3 separate regions of the Homo sapiens genome follow, and regions 1 and 2 are each linked to region 3. Evidence: promoter capture Hi-C in human tissues and cell types (Jung and others, 2019). All regions are on one chromosome and are shown on one strand. Each heading gives the region's core, a stretch centred on a gene start or on the middle of the fragment in contact. The rest is flanking DNA. Distances are from core to core; before and after follow the strand shown. Region 1 overlaps GGA2 (golgi associated, gamma adaptin ear containing, ARF binding protein 2). Region 2 holds the start of PALB2 (partner and localizer of BRCA2). Region 3 holds the start of USP31 (ubiquitin specific peptidase 31).

The links. Contacts are between HindIII fragments. The study calls those that stand out against the background at their distance.
Region 1: a contact is called between a fragment that was not itself captured here and the fragment with the promoter of USP31 in region 3, in 1 of the 25 tissues and cell types used here (pancreas).
Region 2: a contact is called between the fragment with the promoter of PALB2 here and the fragment with the promoter of USP31 in region 3, in 1 of the 25 tissues and cell types used here (H1 embryonic stem cells).

What each region holds. Positions count from the first base shown.
Region 1 is chr16:23,467,173-23,470,394 of GRCh38, forward strand. GGA2 (golgi associated, gamma adaptin ear containing, ARF binding protein 2) reads right to left here. Exons shown (of 17, transcript NM_015044.4): 15 at 2,824-2,993; 16 at 1,714-1,824; 17 at 1-528. The coding sequence ends at 418. Among named protein-coding and RNA genes, the nearest start is that of COG7, 16 kb to the left of the region's middle. The HindIII fragment of the contact is 3,947 bases long and covers 1-3,222 here.
Region 2 is chr16:23,639,484-23,643,142 of GRCh38, forward strand. It overlaps PALB2 (partner and localizer of BRCA2), which reads right to left and starts at 1,827. Exons shown (of 13, transcript NM_024675.4): 1 at 1,627-1,827. The coding sequence starts at 1,674. It overlaps DCTN5 (dynactin subunit 5), which reads left to right and starts at 1,983. Exons shown (of 6, transcript NM_032486.4): 1 at 1,983-2,107; 2 at 3,472-3,540. The coding sequence starts at 2,060. RefSeq lists a silencer at 894-1,128 and an enhancer at 2,256-3,045. The HindIII fragment of the contact is 21,224 bases long and covers 1-3,659 here.
Region 3 is chr16:23,147,704-23,151,351 of GRCh38, forward strand. It overlaps USP31 (ubiquitin specific peptidase 31), which reads right to left and starts at 1,749. Exons shown (of 16, transcript NM_020718.4): 1 at 935-1,749. The coding sequence starts at 1,567. RefSeq lists silencers at 890-1,119, 1,250-1,349, 1,450-1,499, 1,650-1,749 and an enhancer at 1,930-2,149. The HindIII fragment of the contact is 9,135 bases long and covers 1-3,648 here.

The sequences.
Region 1 (3,222 bases), core at 567-3,066, 320 kb after region 3:
CCTTTCAAAGGCTGACAAGGCACAGAGTGGATGAATGGAACGAACGATACATGAAAAAAACACTTTGGCTGATAAAACCTCCAACCTGAGGCAGGGACAGTGTCGCTCGCTGACATGCAGAAACATGACTGTAGCAGAGATGATGATGATGAGAAATGCTTCGCATTTCCCACACTGCCGATATCCCAAGCCCTGTGCTACCACCCTCTCCCCGAACACACACACACACACACACACACACACACACACACACACACACACAGAGCATCTGCAGAATAAGTCAGAGGTTGACACCCAGAGCCTGACGTCAGGATAGGACTCTTGGCACTCCGCACTGAAACACCGTGATTAGTCCTGACTAGACAGCAAAAGTAACGCCAGCCTAAGCTTGAAATGAAGGGTCCATCTTGTGAAAAGTTAGGCTGCGCCCAAGACAGCCAGGTCTGGGAAGTCTTTCACTTCTCCTACTTCGCTGAAAGGCTGTCCACCTTGGTTGAATGTCAGCTTGTACCGTAAGCGGATAGGTTCCTGGGACAGAAGAGACAGAAGATGTCAAATCAGTGGAGAGCAACCCAGGAACAGGGGTCAATGTTAAGTCAAGTGAGTGTTTCAAACAATTCTGACACAAAATACCTGGGATACTCTCTTTGGGACTACAAACAAGGGGAAACAGGCACATATCCTGGGAACCCTTCGATAATTCTGCAGTCCTGAAATCCTGAGATGGGCTGCAATTCAGAGACCAGCTAAGGAAGACAGACCTTGTCCTTTCAGAGGACTCCAGAGGATTAGGGAGAGTTCATGTGTCCCTCCCTTGGTCCCCAGCTATGACAATCCATCTGATCTTCCTTCAGTGAGCCCCAAAGACAGACTCCAGCGAGGGATATTCCACATATACCCCTAACACCCAACCAAACCAGAGACTGACTTTCTTTTCTTTTTCTCTTCTCCTTCCTTCCTTTCCTCCTTCCCTCCCTCTCTCTCTCTTTCATCTATCTGTCTGTCTGTCTATCTATCTATCTATTTGATAGAGTCTCGCTCTGTCACCAGGCTGGAGTGCAGTGGTGCGATCTTGGCTCACTGCAACCTCCGCCTCTTGGGTTCAAGCAATTCTCCTGCCTCACTCTCCCGAGTAGCTGAGACTACAGGCGCACGCCACCATGCCCAGCTAATTTTTGTATTTTTAGTAGAGATGGGGTTTCACCATGTTGGCCAGGATGGTCTCGATCGCTTGATCTCGTGATCCATCTGCCTCAGCCTCCCAAAGTGCTGGGATTACAGGCGTGAGCCACTGCACCTGGCCGACTTTATTTTTTTTTGAGATGGAGTCTTGCTCTGTTGCCCAGGCTGGAGTGCAGTAGTGCGATCTCGGCTCACTGCAACCTCCACCTCCTGGGTTCAAGCAATTCTCCTGCCTCAGCCTCCTGAGCAGCTAGGACTAAAGGTGCGTGCCCCCACAACCAGCTAATTTTTGTATTTTTAGTAGAGATGGGGTTTCACCATGTTGGCCAGGCTGGTCTCAAACTCCTGACCTCAGGTGGTCCACCTGCCTCAGCCTCCCAAAGTGCTGGGATTACAGGGGTGAACCACTGTGCCCAGCAAACCAGAGACTTTAGAGCAAGGCCTCAATGTGCCTCTCTCTACCCACAAAGTTACCTCCCCTTACAGTTCAGGGGCCCCCATCTCCCTGCTACCACAGACACTGGAACATACTTTGTGTGGATTGTCAAGCAGCAGCATCTGAGATATCACAGCTGGAGGCATCAAAGGACTGAATGCAGGAAGCTTGGAGCTGGATGCCGGCTGCAGCTTCACTCTCATTGACTATCAGGGGAAGAAAACCAACATGTAACTCATTCCTAACCACAGCTTCTAGGATGGAGATCAGGTGAGGGGGAGCTGGACCTCCCCAACACCCCTCCAAGAGGAAATGGCCCTCTTAAACGTGGTACCCCGAGGCACCTATGGGAGCCCAAGCAGACAGACTCCCACTAATTGATAAAAGGATCTAAGAGGCCTTTCCTTCCACACACAGAATGGATCGGGAGTTGTGTGGTCAATAACCGGCATCTGAGACGCAGCATCAACAGCCAGGGCACATCTTGGGTTGAATTCTAACTGCTTCTCACTAGCTCTGTGACCTTGAGTAAAATATTTAATTTCTGAGCCTTGGGTTAACTTATAAAACAGAGGTAGTAGCAGAACATTGCCCATAGGACTACCGTAAGAAGTAGAGACTGCAGGTCATATTTTTGTCTGTCTCGAATCTTTTCCTTTCAGGACAGGCCCCTTCCCCTGTGACTGTGGGGTGCCTGTTAATCAGTAGGGCCCCACTTCCCTTGAAAAGGGATGGATGTTATCTCACATTGGCCAAGTGTCTCATATCCCAGGATACAAGTTCCTGGTCCAAGGTATGGAAGTAACACCAACAAGCCCAATCAGAGCCCTTTCCTGGGTAATCAATATATGTGCTTCATGCCCGGTGAGAGTTTCTGAGATAAAGAGGGTTAAGGACCATGCAACCCTGGAGCTGTGGGTAGCCACTTTCCTGTTTGTGGAGAAACTGTCAGAATGGTGCCAAAGAAAAGCAGAGTCAAGAGATACAGATTCTTAAGGCATTGTTTAAGAACCTATTTGGATTCACTCATATCTGAAGTCAGATATTCAGGAATCCCCAGTCAGGTAAGCCATTACATTCCCACTTTATCTTCAGTTAGTTTGAGTGAAGATTCTTTCCTTGACACTCGACAGGTAAGTCCCAGAAAAGAACCTGGCACTCAAAAACGACAGCCATTACTGAGAAATCCCCAACAGATGACTCACCTTTGGCACAGCCACTTGAAACATGATATCCCAGACAGGCTGGGGAGCCGTGCTCATCATGGTCAAGAGCAGCACCTGTACCTCTGGGTGCCCAGGGGCTCCCGTCTGGGAGAAGTGGAGCAGAATTCTGAATCCATTCCGGTCATACACAATGAGAGGCGGCAGGCTGCCTGGTATAAAGGGCACAAGCAGAAGGTTTAACACCACTACAAACCCCCCGGACAGCCAGGCTGGAAAGAGATGTACATGTTATCCCCAGATGCTGTTGCTTCTCCATGCAGAACATGTCCAGGACTGAATTCCTCTGCACTACCATAATCCAAGTCCTCATGACTCTAGCTGGACTCCTATGACCCTCCAAACTGACCTTTCCCCACCATCCAACCATCATACACACAC
Region 2 (3,659 bases), core at 577-3,076, 490 kb after region 3:
CTCCAGCCTGGGCAACAGAGCGAGACTCTGCTTGAAAAAAAAAAAAAAAAAAAAGGCCGGGTGCAGTGGCTCACACCTGTAATCCCAGCACTTTGGAAGGCCAAGGCGGGCAGATTACCTGAGGTCAGGAGTTCAAAACCAGCCTGGCCAACATGGAGAAACCCTGTCTCTACTAAAAATACAAAAATTAGCCCGGCGTGGTGTTGGGCGTCTGTAATCCCAACTACTCGGGAGGCTGAGGCAGGAGAATCGCTTGAACCTGAGAGGCGGAGGTTGCAGTGAGCCAAGATCGAGCCACTGCACTCCAGCCTGGGAGATAGAGCGGAGAGTCTGTCTCAAAAACAAACAAAACAAAACCTATGTGCAAAACATGCTACTAGACAAGTTGCCAACCGTAAGGAATTTTCTTTTTTTTTGAGAGACAGTCTCACTCTGTCGTCCAGCCTGGCGTGCAGTGGCGCGATCTCGGCAGCTCCCTGCAACCTCAGCGTCCCCTGGTTCAAGCGATTCTCGTGCATCAGCCTCTGAGGCCTGAGCCTCTGGGACTACAGGCTGGCGTCACCACACCCGGCTAATTTTTGTATTTTTAGTAGAGACGGGGTTTCACTACGTTGCCTAGGCTGGTCTCAAACTCTGAGCTCAAGCGATCTGCCCATCTCGGCCTCCCAAAGTGCGGGGATTACAGGCGTGAGCCAGGGAGACTGGCCTCCCACCAATCTTATCAATGTCTGGGGATTATCTTGTTTACTTATAAATGATCTTTCTCACCTCCACCAGAAGGTAAGCCAGGATAAGAATAACATCAGCACAAGCTGGAAACATCCTAAAAGTCTATCAGTAAAGTACAGTCTAAAGAAGCAAGGGCACTTCCAAGGCCAGGTGCAGTGGCGGGTTCGTGTAATCCCAGCTACTCGGGAGGCTGAGGCAGGAGAGTCGCTTGATCCCAGGAAGCGGAGGTTGCAGTGAGCCGAGATCGCGCCACTGCACCCCAGCATGGGTGGCAGAGTGAGACTCTGTCTCAAAAAAGAAGAAAAACAGAAAAGGAAGAAAAAAGAAACAAAACGAGGGCACTTCCAAACTACAACATACTGTCTAGAACTTAAAAAAGAAAGCAAGGTAGATAAACATGTCCTGACAGGAAAGCTAAACGGAACCTGCAGAACCATTCAGATCATACCATTTATGAACATTCCCTTCTCCAAAAAATATACATAGGATTCCTTTTTGGTGGTTAGGGATACGCCCCTCCTCCACCACCCACATTAACACACGAAAGGACCTGGAAGTACCAGACTTAAAAGATTTACTTGAGGCCGTCCGGGGGGAGAAGTAAAGATTGAGGGTGTGGGAGGGGGGAGGAGCAAGGGTGTCGATACAGCTTTATCTACAAACTGTTACACATTGTATTAATGCGCTGCTACTGTAATGAAATTTGTTCTTTAAACGCCACCACGTGAGCACCACGCTATTTCCACATTTTCATTTTCTGTGCCCCCTCAGCCCTAAGAGGAGGGGGTGGTCAGATGATACTGCTGCCCTCGGACTGCCGAGGACACAAAGCCAGGCCTAAAACCCTGGGAAAGCGGGGTCAGAGTCCTGCGTCCGCCCTTCCCGCACCCCCGGCACCTTTTCCTTCTCCTCACAGCTGAGGGGCTTCCCGGGAGGCTCGTCCATCGGGCAGGCGACAGAACGAAAAGAGCAGCCGTCGCCGACCCCAGGCCTGCCGACACCGGGACCCAGTTGGCCCTGGGCCGGGGAGGCGCCCCAGGAAGGAATGGGGAGCCCGGGATCGCACCCTCAGTGCGCGATCAGCTGACCCACGCGGGCCAAGCGCGCCCTAAACTCCGGCCAATTAAATCCACCATTCGGCCTGCGCACGCGCAGCCGTAGACGGCCGAGCAGTGGAGCGAGGCCGCCTAAAGGAGAGCCGCGCTGTCGATGAGTCCCAGTGGGCCACCTGGAGCGGAAGTGGAGGAGCGGCCGGAAGTAGCCGGAATCTCTGAAAGACTGACCGACTGACTCTGACAGGATCCGGGGCTGAGGGAAGGAGGCGGCGGCCATGGAGTTGGGCGAGCTGCTCTACAACAAGTCTGAGTACATCGAGACGGTGCGCGGGTCCAGATATGTATCCTCCTCTTTCCAACCCTGCGTCCCTTTGAGGCCTGGTCGGCGTTCCCAACCTGCCCCTACCCCACCAACCCCTGTCCCTTTGGCCATTAGTCCCGGATTATCTAGCGATGCCCCGTGTACCGTCTGGCTTTGCTGTTTACTCCGCGCTTGGCCAGTTGAGGCCTTTTGTATTTATTCCTGATTTTCTCATAGGGGTAAAGTGCCTTCGGGAGGATAGGACAAGTCCCATCCTGTTCATACGAATTACAGCTCGGACTTCGGGCCCTTTTACACTGCCTTTTGTATCTGTTAACTTGCGCTAAAAACGATTCGGTTCTTTTTTTTTGAGGAAGGGGGTTGGGGGGCGGAGACTCTGTCGCCCAGTCCTGAGGGCCGCGGCGCGATCTCTGCTCACTGCAACCTCCGCCTCCCGGGTTCAAGCGATTCTCCTGCCTCAGCGTCTCGAGTAGCTGGGATTACAGGCGCCCGCCACCACGCCCGGCTAATTTTTGTATTTTTTGGTAGAGACGGGGTTTCACCGTGTTGGCCAGGCAGGTCCCTAACTCTTGACCTCAGGTGATCGACCCGCCTCGGCCTCCCAAAGTGCTGGCATTACAGGCGTGAGCCACCGCACCCTGCCGATTTGGTTCTTTATGATCAGTACATGATATGTTTGTAAAATCTTGGAAACAGGGCAAGTGGTCAATTAACGTTACTATCGTTATTTTGGTTTTCTTTGCTTTCTCACAACTCTGATACTCATAGTCATTATCCTCGTTTTAAGGCCGTAAAGCCCACGCGTGGAAGTGGGATTTGAATCCGCGTCTGTCTGATGCCACCAAGCTATAGACATTCAAATTATGAGTTTATTCCTTGAGTCCCTAGTTTCCTTTGTGTTTTTATTTTTTGAGACAGGTTCTCACTCTGTTGCCCAGGCTGGAGTGCAGTGGCACAATCACAGCTCATTGCAGCCTCGGCCTTCCAGGCTCAAGCGATCCTCTAGCCTCAGCCTTCTGAGGAGCTGGGACTACAGACACGCGCCACCATGCCCGGCTAATTAAAAAATTTTTTTTTTGTTGAGAAGGGGTCTCACTATGTTGCCTAGGCTGGTCTTGAGCTCCTGTCCTCAAGGGATCCGTCTGCCTCAGCCTCTCAAAGTGCTGAGATTACAGGCATGAGCCACCATACTCAGCCATAGTTTCCTAATCCATCATTGCTTTTTTGATATCCTGGACTCACTCCATTGTGGACAGCACCCCACTTTATGTTTTTTTCTCTCAAATGGGAGCTTTCTTGATGGAAACCTGTAGTCCAGAAACCTATTAAGTTTGCTTTCCCCGGTTTTCCGTTGTTTTCTTTTAGGCATCTGGGAACAAAGTCAGTCGCCAGTCAGTGTTGTGTGGAAGCCAGAACATCGTTCTCAATGGCAAGGTAAGGGACAAAGCCAGCTCCAGGCTGCAAACCTTAGCTTGCGTTCTGCTAATTGTCACCACAGCAGGGCAGATAAAATGTTGCCATATCTCCTATTTATTGTTTACATTTTTAATTCT
Region 3 (3,648 bases), core at 499-2,998:
AGTGGCTTGAGGACAAGAGTTCAAGACCAGTCTGGGCAACACAGCAAAACCCCCGTCTCTACAAAAGTGTTTTAAAAATAAAAAATAGGTAGGTATGGTGGTGTGTGTCTGTAGTCCCAGCTATTAAATACTCTGGAAGGTGAGGCGGGAGGATTGCTTGAGCCCAGGAGTTTGAGGCTATGTGAGCACTGCACTCCAGCCTGGGCAACAGAGCAAGACCCTGTCTCTAAAAATAAAATAAAAATAAAAAGTAGCCTGTCAGCACATCAATCACAGCAGCAGGTTTTTCTTTCTTCAAACCACTATCTGATATTATCTCGTTAACTTCTTCAAGTCTTTAATAACAAAAATAATAGCAGCAAATACACATGATATGGAAGTATTTTACTTATCAGGTTGAACCCTATAAAAGTGCCAATCTGTAAATAAAAAACGGTTAAATATGGGTAATTCCACAGTGTTCGATTTAATATATTAACTTGTTTGCAGCTCACAACCACCTTACAAAGTAGGTCCCCCAGATGAAGAAACTGTAAGAACAGAGAGGCTGCTTAACTTACCCGACGTCACATTGCTAGTAAGTGGCAGAACCAGGATTTGAACCCATGCTCAACACTCCCACCCCACAAAAATGCAAGTTCCATGAAGGCGGATAGTCTTGTTCATTGCAACGTCACTCCCATTGCCTATTATCACAGAGTATGGGCACGTATGTAGTAAGTTCTCAATAAATACATGTTTGAGTGAGTGAGTGAGTGAATAAATGAATGAATGAATGAATCTCCTTAAAATCACTGGTCGACTGCCCAGACCACTCGGAGCAACCAATGCAGAAGCCTGCCGGGCCAAGAGGAACCGAGGGAAGGAAGACCTGGGCGGGCAGGTGCCCCAGGGGCTCGGGGTGCAGTGGGGGCGCGGCGGCGCGCGGGCTCACCTTGAAGTCGCGGCTGTGCTGCGGGGTGTACTCCAGGGTCCAGAGGGCCCGCACCAGGTGCGCCAGCTGCTCAGTGACCTCGCCCTGGCCCTGCGCGCCGCGGCCCGCAGGCTGCTCCGGGTCAGGCGAGGGCTCGGGCCGCCCCGCCCGGTACTGGCCCAGCGCCAGGTACTCGGCGAAGAGCTCGGTGTTGCTGAGGCACTGCAGCGTGGCGTTCATGAAGCACGTGTTGCCGTGGTTGCGGAGCCCCGCCACGCCGGGCACCGGCTCGGCGGCGCAAGCGGGCGGCGCGGGAGAGGCGGGCGGCGGCGGGCACGGCGGCGGCGTGGGCGCGGCGGCCGGCCCGGGCGGGAAGCAGCTGCGGAGGCCGCCGCGGTCTGGGGCGGCGCCCTCAGAGCTAAGGTGCGAGAGCGTGGACAGCGTCTTGAGAACGCGGCTCATGAAGCTGCCCACCGAGCGTGCAGAGGAGGGCGAGGAGGGCGAGGAAGGCGCGGCCGGCCCGGACGCCCCGGGGCCCCCCGCGCCGCCGCCGCCAGCGCGGCCGCTCCGAAACAGCCGCTTGCTGAAGGAGCGCTTCTCCTTCCCGCTCGCCGCCGCCGGCGGCCCGGACCCAGGCGCCGTTACCTTGGACATGGCGGCGGCCGCAGACACTCATCACCGCGCCCGCCCGCCCGGCCCGCGGCCCCGCCACGGCCGCCGCCGCATCCCGCAGCGCCGCGCCTCACCGGGCCCGGGGGCTCGACGCCCCACACACCTCAAAGCGCAGCCGAGCCAGCGAGCGAGCGGCGGCCGGCGGGGCCAGCGGGCGCGCGCGCGGTCCGCCCAGCTGAGCCGCTCACGTGACGTGCCTCCCGGCGCCGCCCGCCCGGCGCTGAAGCCGCCTCGGCCGCCATGTTCACTGTGGGACGGTAGCTGCCTCTCCAGCCGGACGCGATGCCTGGAGGCTGCGGGCGCGGTCCTGCTGCGTGAAGCCCGAGGGAGGCCATGTCTAGTGTGGGCGCCGTCCCGGCTTGGAGGAAAAGGCTGGGCTCCCGTTGGATGGTGGATCCCCGGGGTGGGTCTCTGTCTTTGCTGGTCAGATGGCAGAGGCGGGAACGTGCAGGAATCAGGATGCTGTCAGTTACCAGACCGTGCAAGAGCTGGTGGACATGGCCCTGACAGGTCCTGGGCAAGTCAGCCCTGTCTGGCTCCCAAGGGACGTTGCAGATACCTACCCTCTGGGTGCCAGCGGAGCGCAGTCACAGACCCTGGCACGTCCCAGCGGGCTTTTCTTCCTGGCTGCACCTTGGAGTCCCAGCGAAACGCTGTTATCATAACTACTTTCCTTTTCATTCCAGCCTTTAAAACTCCTCCGGGCTCTCCCATCATTCATCATTCCATTCATTCATTCACTCACTCATTCATTCAGCAGTTACTGGGGATATTGCAAAGAATTAAACCTATTAAATTAGAATCAAATGTCATATCCCCAGCGGATTAAATTAGCACGGTTTCTACCTGCCCTCTTGCAGCTTACATTCCTACTGGGTGTTTACAATAGCTGTTGTGTTCCACACATTATGCCAAGCATGCAATATTTTCTTTAATCTTTAATTCACCGTCTTTGAGATTGGTACAGTTCTTATCTGATTCAAACCCAAGTTTTATTTACAACCCCTATACTTGACCTCTAAACCAAAGGTCACGAATCCACAAATATCACAGGTCACAAACCCACAAATGAGTGAAGAATCCTGGTGTTTGAATCATCATATTGACTTTCAAGTGACTTGGGTCTCAGTGTTGGGGGAAATATAAGGAATGATGGGGACTATAGCAGACTTCAAATTAACATCTTTCTAAAGAGGTGGCTGCCACTCAGCTCCAGCCAGTTGTTCCCATGTGAGAACAGGAGCTCAGCGTTACCAGATCATCTGATGTTTTAAGAGAAGGCAGAAATCCTATTTTTAAACGTTGGTTCCATTAAAAAAAAAATAGTGCAGGGAGCAAAAAATAGTACATCTTTGGGATGCCTTTAGTCCAAAATCAACTAGTATATGACCTCCTCTCTATAGGCTCCCCTCTGCTAAAAGGGCTAGTCTGAGTCCTGAGGCAGAAGAGAGAAATCAGAGAAGGGAGAGCCCTTCCTCCTTTTTAAAACATGAAGGCCACCTTACACCACGTTTCAAAGTAAATGGTTTTTACCTTTGACCTCCCTCCCCAATGTAAGTAGGGCTCTATGATGACATCTCCAGGGTGCTCTGCACTGTCCCTAATCGGCTCCACTCTCCTCTTAGTCAAAATTCTTATCTGGACACCAGGAAGAAAGCCATCTGATTATTCACACTAAAATGTGAATGCAATGGCCCTCAACTTCTGGGCAGTTTGATCTAGACTCGAGGGCCTTTGCTGGAGCCGTTCCCTCTCCCTTGAACCTTTCCTTAGCTAACTTAGAACCTTTCTACTTAGCTAACTTCCCCTCATCCTTAAAGTCCCACCTTAGATATCACCCCCTCCAGGAGATGTCCCTTCCACAGGCCCTCTTGGCACCTCTCATTCATGACACTGACTTGACCATATTGCAATTCAGTTTACAATCATCACCTTCACTAATATGTGGGCTTCAACCCAGTAGAGACCCATCTTACTCATTATTCGGTACCCAGTAAGGTAGCCATTATATAACAGGTTGATTATTTGGCAACTTTATACCTAAACAATGTCGTGTGTGTGTG